3 separate regions of the Homo sapiens genome follow, and regions 1 and 3 are each linked to region 2. The links are contacts of gene promoters, found by promoter capture Hi-C in human tissues and cell types (Jung and others, 2019). All regions are on one chromosome and are shown on one strand. The core of a region is centred on a gene start or on the middle of the fragment in contact, and the rest is flanking DNA. Distances in the headings are between cores, read along the strand shown. Region 1 has its middle 24 kb from the start of ST3GAL1. Region 2 holds the start of ZFAT (zinc finger and AT-hook domain containing). Region 3 has its middle 5.8 kb from the start of LINC03024.

Region 1 (2,700 bases), core at 178-2,677, 1.1 Mb after region 2:
GCTGCTATTATGGACCAGAACATATTGTCTTCAGTTGTTTCCTACTTCATTCAACAGGCATTAGCTATTAAGTTCTGTATCTATCGGAAACTATGTTGGGTATGGGGCAGTCAGTCACAAAGGGGTAAAACCAGAAGCCTCACCTTAAATAACCCTAGAAAAGGACGGACACACGACCTGATAAATATAAGAGTGTGCTGACTCTCCTGGCATGTGCAAAGTGCAGAGAAGCATTTTGGCTGGGGGCATTTGGAAGGCAGATACGTTACAACAAAGTAATCTCACTGCAAGTTCAGAAGTTCAGAAGAGGAAAGGGAAGAAAACAGGTATTGGCTAAACGCCTCTGTGTTCCTGGAACTGAGTTAGGGGTTATCCACACAATGCCTGTCGCTCTTCGAAAGACCCTCTTAAAGAAAGGGATTTTCCTCCTTCTGCAGATAAGGAGACGGAGCCTCAGAGAGGTGAAAATGACTGTTCAGGGTCATGGACTTAGAATGTAGCAGGTTCAGGAGTTGGATTGTACTTTTCCTGACACAGGCAGGGGGAGCAGAGGGTAAACGGGGTGGTGGGGTTGGGGAGGCTGGCTGGGTAGTATATTCTACAAAGAGTTTGCACTTTGTCCTTCAGGCAAGATTGCAACTTGGCAGCACAGGGGCCAAATTTGGATCCTCATGAGCCTTAAAAAGCAATGAGGAGAAGTATAGAAGGTAAATTCTAGAATAAATGCCTGGTCTGTAATCACAGTTCCACCTCCCACCAGTCGTGTGATGTGGGGCAAGTTACTGAACTTCTCTGTCCTCATTTACCTCCTCTGTAAAATAGAGATATTCACGACCAAATCTGTCTCCCAGGACTGTCTGGAAGGTTGCATGGGTCATACATGTCGCCCCACATTGAGAAATGCTTGGAATATAAGAATTGCATAAAAATTGCTAACCATTCTGATGGATATACAGCACGGTCTCTGGGAACTAAGAAGCACTTAAAAAACGACTATTATTCTTATAATACATTTTATCAAAAATTACCAAATATATTGAATAATTAGTTAACCTCTTTCACAGTAAGGCAAAGCAGGGGTGTGTTTATTATCCACTGATCCCATCTTCAAGCAGGGACATTGGGTTATAAATTGAGTGCATGGCCAGGTGAGGTGGCTTATGCTTATAATCCCAGCATGTAGGGAGACCAAGGCAGGAGGATAGCTTGAGACCAGGAGCTTAAGATCAGCCTGGACAACACAGGGAGACCCCATCTCTATAAAAAAATATCAGCGTGGTGGTGCACACCTGTGGTCCCAGTTATTGAAGAAGCTAAAGTGGGAGGATTGTTTCAGGGAGGTTGAGGCTGCAGTGAGCTGTGATTGTGTCACTGCACACCAGCCTGGGCAACAGAGTGAGACTGTGTCCAAATAAATAAATAAATAAATAAATAAATGTATAAAACCTTTTTTGACAGCTCAGATGTTAGAGAACAAAGAAAAGTCATTTTCTTGACTCACTGTGAGCTTGTACTTCCAGATGTGCAGGAGGGATGTGAGGGAGTGAATGTCTGTTTGCAAATGGGCTCATGTGGTTTGTCCTGTGGGCTCCTTCAGCTGTGGGCTTGGAGACAGTCAAAAGTTTCTTACTCTGAAATGCTGCTTGAAAACTATCTCAGGTCCCTGGAACAGCTAGATTTTTCTTTTGGCTCTACCACCAGTTGTGTAATCTTGGACATGTCCCTTTCCAATTCATGTTCTTACTGGATCTTTTTACTGTTTCATGTAATAAATGGAAAAGTGATAGAAATTAAGAGATGCATCTCAAATTACAGACAATTAGCCTAAGGATATGACTGGAATGAGGAGAATACACTGGACTGAAAACTCCTGGCCAGATCTGAATGTCGAGAGGATTCTGCACTCTACAGGGCAGGTGGAACAGACCCCCTCTTCCCCCAGGAGTCCCCTCAGCTCCTCACAGCTTCTCCTGTCTCGCTACCCTGGCCACCCCAGCTGTTGCTGTTCCACCCCAACTCTGCATGGGCTCAGGCCCCCGCCCCCACCACTACCATGACAGTCTTCTCAAGGGGTCCATCTCTCTGTGGTTGCTGAAGTGGGAGACACCCATCCCCCAGCCATGGCTGTGCACCAGTACCCTGGACAGGGCAGGAAAGGTAATGTCCATGGGGAGAACCGTGGGCTGATGGGAAGTAGGGCTGATGGGAAATAGTACAGACATTCTGCTCCCTCCCTCCTCCCACCTTCACAGTCTGTTCCGAGGTGCTGTAGTCCCTAAGCATCCTGGAAGACAGTCCAGGAGATAGAACACTCAGTGCACTTGGCACCAAATGTGGCCAGCTTGGTAACACGACCTCTCATTTGTCCCCTTCCTTCCCTGCCTACCTCCTTCTCTCTCTCTCTCCAGCTTCTCTGGGATCATTCTCTCTGGTAAAGTAGCAGCATGTCAGGTTTTCATTAGCCTCAGCTTTCTGGGAAAGCCAGGCTGAGACAGATTCTAAAACAAAGTAATTTCTACTCTCATTAATTGGGATGGCTAAAGAGAGAGAGGAAGGGAAGAAAGGTGAAGGAGAGAGAAAAAGAGAGCCTTTGGCTGTCGATGGATATTGAAGAGGTATGGTGAGTATTACAGGAGTGGAAACCAGTTCAACGCACGGAATTTGGAACCAACTGCCTGGGTTTGCATCCCTCTTAATAAT
Region 2 (2,700 bases), core at 11-2,510:
GAAGTGTGAACTTCAGGGCTGTCCGAGAATTTCATGTTGAGCAGCAACCAAAGAGGGTTATTCCAGGAAAAGAAGAACAGGCAAAGACTAGCATTTCAGGGGAACCATGAACACAAATCAGTTTCCCAAACTTCAGTCTCCTGAAGTCTGCTTTTACACTTTTTTTTTTTGGGGGGGGGGGGGCATGTCTTTGCAGCATGTACACCATTTTAAGTTGACTGATTTTTGAAAATGTAAACGAACAATTTAAAAACTTTATATGACTACTGTAAGTGAAAAACGTTATTTGTCATGAACAGAAAATGACCTTAGAACATGGACCACATCAACTCATTACTCATGAAATAAATAACTGTCAGGCTCAGTTTGTTTCTGAGGCTAACGGGGTGACCATTGACAGAGGTAAGGGAGGGAGATAATGACAGATAGGAATGGATGCTACGTAGAAAATATGAAGTGTCTTGGAGGGTTACTTTAGATGGGTTTCGGGGGGTGAGGGTTAGGGGCTGGAAGATATCATTTGAGCCGAGGACTACAGTGTTGGAGCTAAACACCTTAACATCAAAACCAAAAACAAAGTCATTAAATTTCCACCAGACTCAGCTGCCTGCCGAAGGCTGTGCCACAAGCAGAGAAATGAATGAGCGGGTGTTGGAGGCGCGCACATCCAGTGCAGACTTGTTGTGGGACAAAAAGAGACGAGAGAGGAGGAAGTCGCCTTGTCACGTGTGATCGTAGGCCGCTCAGTGCTCTGTAGCCCCTAAAACCCAGCCGGGTGGCCCAAAGGAAAGCACCCCACGCTTCGGGAAACGCCGCAGCTTTGAGCGGGATGCAGGTTGGGAGCACCCCGATGGACACATCAGTAAACTGAGAGCAAGAAAAGTTAATTCGCTGCCCCAAGTTAGGTAGTGAGAGGTAGAGCTGGGACACGAAGCGCACCCAGAACTCTCCTTGCACGCCCAGCTCGGCGGCCCCACATGCCGCGGGTCTAGGGTCGCGCTAGCAGAGGCCTGGCACAACCGCCAGACTCCTGACCCCGAGATCCGCGCTCCGGACCTCCCGAGGGCCCCTCCCTGGGCGTGGCTCAAAACGCGGCGCAGCGGAATCCGTGAAGTGGGATAAAAAGCACGGCCTCCGACTGCGAGCATGCGCGTTAGCTCGGCCCTGCCGGGCCGCGCTCGGCGCCGGGGGAGGGTCACCCGAAGCGGACGTCCGCTACGCAGGCGTCTGCGCCCCGTGGGGAGGAGGGCGAAGACTCCATCCGCCATGTTGGATGCCGCAGATTCGCCATAACCTCGCCGGCTCTTTTCTTAAAAAAATAAAAATAAAAAGCGAAGCGTCAGCAGGGCGCCCCGCCCCCTCGGTCGGCACGGGAGGGGGCCCGGAAGAGCCCGAGGCTTTTTTTTCCTCCGCGGTGGGGCGTTGCCATGGAGACGCGGGCGGCAGGTGAGCCGGGCTGGGGGTTGGGGTGAGACGGGGTGGGGGTGGGGCGCGGCGCGGCGCGCGGAAAGCCGTTTCGAGCGTCGAGTCGGGAAGCAGTGCGCCGGCCGCCGGCCGCCGGCCGCCGGCCGCGGAGGGATCCGGGTCTGGGGAGGAGAGCGAACGTAGTTGCGTTCTGCGGCTCACGTTCAGTCGCTGGGGTATCCCGCCGCAAAAAAAAAAAAAAAGCAAGGCGGGAGCGAGTGGGAGAGCATGCGCCCGGCCGTTTCCACGGCAATGGGTGGCGTTGGGGCGCGGGCCAGCGACGGAACGCAGTGGGCGCGAGGTTCGAATCCCGGCGATGCCAGCTCTTTGACTGGACCTTGGCGGGGCTTCCTTCTTGCCTGGCCTCGGATTCCTCCTTGGCGAAATGAGTACCTCCTGCAGGCTTCCCGGCCGCCGGCTGGACCTAATAGAGTGACAGATCTTCCACTTGACACCCGGTGCAAGTCATTTAACCTTGAGCTTGGGGTCCTTCACCTGTAATTACCACAAGCTTCCACATTTGGGCACTGACTTAACACGTTTTGCTGCTCAGCTCTCTTGAGAACTCTAATTTGTAGGTCATTTATTATGAGGAACAGAAGTTCAGAGAGGTCAACTTTACACAGTTTAAAAACGACAGAGCTGGGGCTTTAAAAATTAACTTCCTCCAACTTGGGCTAAAATCCAAACTCCTGCGTGCTCGCCTGACTTGTACCTCCATCTTCTTAGAATAGGGCTTGGCTCATGTAAGTGTTCACTATATACTTAGTGAATGAAAGAACGAACGCGCTAACTGATCACGCCTGCCCATCAGTCTGGCTTTTTTTGCTGGAGTCCAAGTGACCTTTTGGAGATGCCCCGCACAGCTGCCTCTCACCAGCTTTATCTTCCGAGCCTACCAGTTCATCTACTGAAACATCTGTAGTGTGTGTCCCCATGCTGAAGGAAGTAGCGTGTCCTACCTCTAACCCCCAGGGACACCTTTCCTGACTTTAGTTCAAATAACAGCTTTGCAAGGATCCCCTCTGCACGCCAGGCAGGGGTAAAGAGCAGTCCCAGTCGTAGTCCTGCCTCCACCTGCTGCGGTGCTAGATGTGGGAGAATGTGTCCTGGAGTGACAGAGTGGGCCCAGAGCCGAATATTGGGTCAGGAGACCCGAACTATATCAGGCGTGCTTTTTTTTAATTTAATTTTTTTAATTTTTTGGGACAGAGTCCCGCACTATCACTCAGGCCG
Region 3 (2,700 bases), core at 71-2,570, 1.0 Mb after region 2:
AGTGCAGTGGCGCAAGCTTGGCTCACTGAAACCTCCGCCTCCCAGGCTCAAGCGATTCTTGTGCCTCAGCCACCCAAGTAGCTAGGATTACAGGCATGTGCCACCATGCTTGGCTAATTTTTATATTTTTAGTAGAGACAGGGTTTTGCCATGTTGGCCAGGCTGGTCTCGAACTCCTGGTCTCAAGCCATCCTCCTGCTTCAGCCTCCCAAAGTGCTGGGATTGTAGATGAGCCACCTGCCCAGGCTACAATGGACTTTTGTTGATTTTTTTGGCTACCTGTTGTCATTCTCTCACACTAATGATTCCAGCACCCCTCAACTCTCACTTGTGGATCCATCCACCCACTATTCTCCATCCACATGATTCTGGTGGTGCTGACTTTACCCCCATGCCTGGGCTGGAACATAAGCCCTCTGTCTAAAAATATTGGTACATTCCTTCTTCCTGGTTTCAGTGATGGGTTCAGGGAAGAGTGGCTGACTCAAGACAGAGGGCAGGCAATTTAACCTCAGTCCAGCAAACCCTGCATTTGCCCTTTTCCACCAGGTCTGACCCTGGAGGGATGCACGAAGGAGCTACTGCAACCATTTTGCCACCATGAACACAATACCTGTGTAGATAATGGAGCCAATGTCACAGGCGGTGGAGCAAGTGTCACAGGAGGCCCAGCCAAGAGATGATGGAAGGAAAAAACCAAACCCCAAGTCAACATCTATGTCTGGACTTTTTAGTTATTTGAGCCAATACATTTATGTTTCAAGCCAGATAAGAGCTGCATTTTCTGTTCACTGCAGTGCTTTAAGAGCTCTCAGGTAGCAGAGGATTGCTTCTAAGATGCATGCAACCAGCTGTGGTTGATTGTCTTCTTCTCGTTCTTTCTGATTTTGTCTTATTTTGTCAAGATGCAAAGCCGCAGGAGATTCCCTACAATGTCTAATTTCAAGTCTGAGCCTGCCCTTTACATGTGGAGGATAAGCACCTTCACTCATTATCCCCCAATGCGAAACCATTTTCCAAAAAGAAATTAAGTTTGCTGTTGATTCCATAAAAGGTGGCAGCTGAAAATACAATTTTTAAAATAGTTAGAAGAAACATTGCTACAACTCCTGCCCCTTCCAAATTGCCCTCTCTTGGAGATAGTTTGGCCAATCTTTGCCTCCCATCCCAACTAGGATACTGGAGAGCCTTGTCCACATATCTCTGTGTGTAGGGTCTGTTTTATATCTGGGCTCCCTGTCAACTCCCTCGACCTCATCCTGCCAGGCCAAGCACATTCTTTCTTCCCAGAAATGTGCCTCTTATCGCTACCCCTGTCCATCACTCGAGGCTGCCAGGAGCCGCTGTATGCAATCGCCAGAGTCTTGCACAATCCAGAAGAAAAGATTGATGGAGAGGAGTTATGGGCCTTGAGTCCATTTGTTCCTGTGCTCAGGGCTCTTTGTCCCTGTAAATCCAGGGTTTCTATGACAAATGTTTATGGCTCACACAGCCCGGCCTGCAAAAGGGAATTCCAACCCCCTACTGCCTAACAATTGTCCACCCCCCACTTTACAAATCTGAGGCCTTGGTCTGGGCGAGGAAACACTAGGTAGAATATGCAAAGCTGTTAATTCAAGTGGTGACTCAGGCCAAGAGTGACCTGCATGTCACTTTCCTCCACGTTCATGATGCCTCTAAGACTCTGCAGACAGAGATCTGGTCCTGCCCTCAATGCACCATGGACCCTCTGGACAGTTCCTTCCTCTCTCTGGGCTTCACTTTACCTGCTCAGCTACCTCCTATCCAGGGCAGGAGTCTCCTTTACAATTTCCTTGATAAGCATGCATCCTTGCATACCTCCAGTGCCAGGGACTCACTTGCTCACAGACAGCCTGTTCCAACGTCAGAGACCTCTCAAGCTTTGCATGCATAGGTAGGGACTGGACCGAGGTCAGCCCAATGCCACTTCTAGTCTCTTGGTGGCCACCCACTCACCAACTGCTCTTAGTGTGGCTTTGAGGATCTGGGTCACACCATCATGTGGTCAAATAAAGCCTCAGTTACTGGACACATGATCTGTCTCTAAGCCACTTCTCTTCCATCTATTTTAAAGCCAATGGGTTTTGCAAGACTGAATCTGGGGTTTTACACTGATGCCTGTGAAATCCCAGAAACATTTTTGCTCACAGAGTTTGTTTCTTTGATTGTTTGTTTTCCAGAGTGAAATCTCTGGAGTCAGGTAGACCTGGTTTGCATTTTGATTCCAGCTTACTTGCTGTGTGACTTAGAGAAGGTTTCAGAAACTATCTGACCCTCCTCTTCCTCAGCTAAGGGATAGGGATGATCAAATCCACTTGTTTTGTGAATGCTGGAAGGAAGATTCAGCACATGAAAACAGAATATAAAAGACTTTCTCATTACCTGGCGCAGGGTGAGTGTCCAGTGAAAGGCTGTTATTATCCCATGCGTACCTGCCCAGGGAGGATTCCAGGTGTATGAATGTACTTTGTGAGCTCTGGGGGCACCTCCTAAGAAGCCCTGCACATCTGGGTGCCATTTCTCTGGTTACCATCCTGCCATGGCCCCCCTCTGAGGAAGCTGAGCAGGAAGAAGGAGAGAAGCGTGAACCTTAGACCCTGGATGAGTCACTTCATAACTGTGATTCCATGGTACTGCTTGAGGATAAGAGGGCACTGTGTTTGGGGAAGGAAGGGTCTA

Evidence for each region. Contacts are between HindIII fragments. The study calls those that stand out against the background at their distance.
Region 1: a fragment that was not itself captured here is called in contact with the fragment with the promoter of ZFAT in region 2 in 1 of the 25 tissues and cell types used here (spleen).
Region 3: a fragment that was not itself captured here is called in contact with the fragment with the promoter of ZFAT in region 2 in 1 of the 25 tissues and cell types used here (lymphoblastoid cells).

The regions. Positions count from the first base shown.
Region 1 is chr8:133,594,838-133,597,537 of GRCh38, reverse strand. No RefSeq gene overlaps it. Among named protein-coding and RNA genes, the nearest start is that of ST3GAL1, 24 kb to the right of the region's middle. The HindIII fragment of the contact is 9,177 bases long and covers 1-2,700 here.
Region 2 is chr8:134,711,591-134,714,290 of GRCh38, reverse strand. ZFAT (zinc finger and AT-hook domain containing) reads left to right here and starts at 1,260. Exons shown (of 16, transcript NM_020863.4): 1 at 1,260-1,446. The coding sequence starts at 1,428. RefSeq lists an enhancer at 1,249-1,428. The HindIII fragment of the contact is 14,984 bases long and covers 1-2,700 here.
Region 3 is chr8:133,688,474-133,691,173 of GRCh38, reverse strand. No RefSeq gene overlaps it. Among named protein-coding and RNA genes, the nearest start is that of LINC03024, 5.8 kb to the right of the region's middle. The HindIII fragment of the contact is 4,956 bases long and covers 1-2,700 here.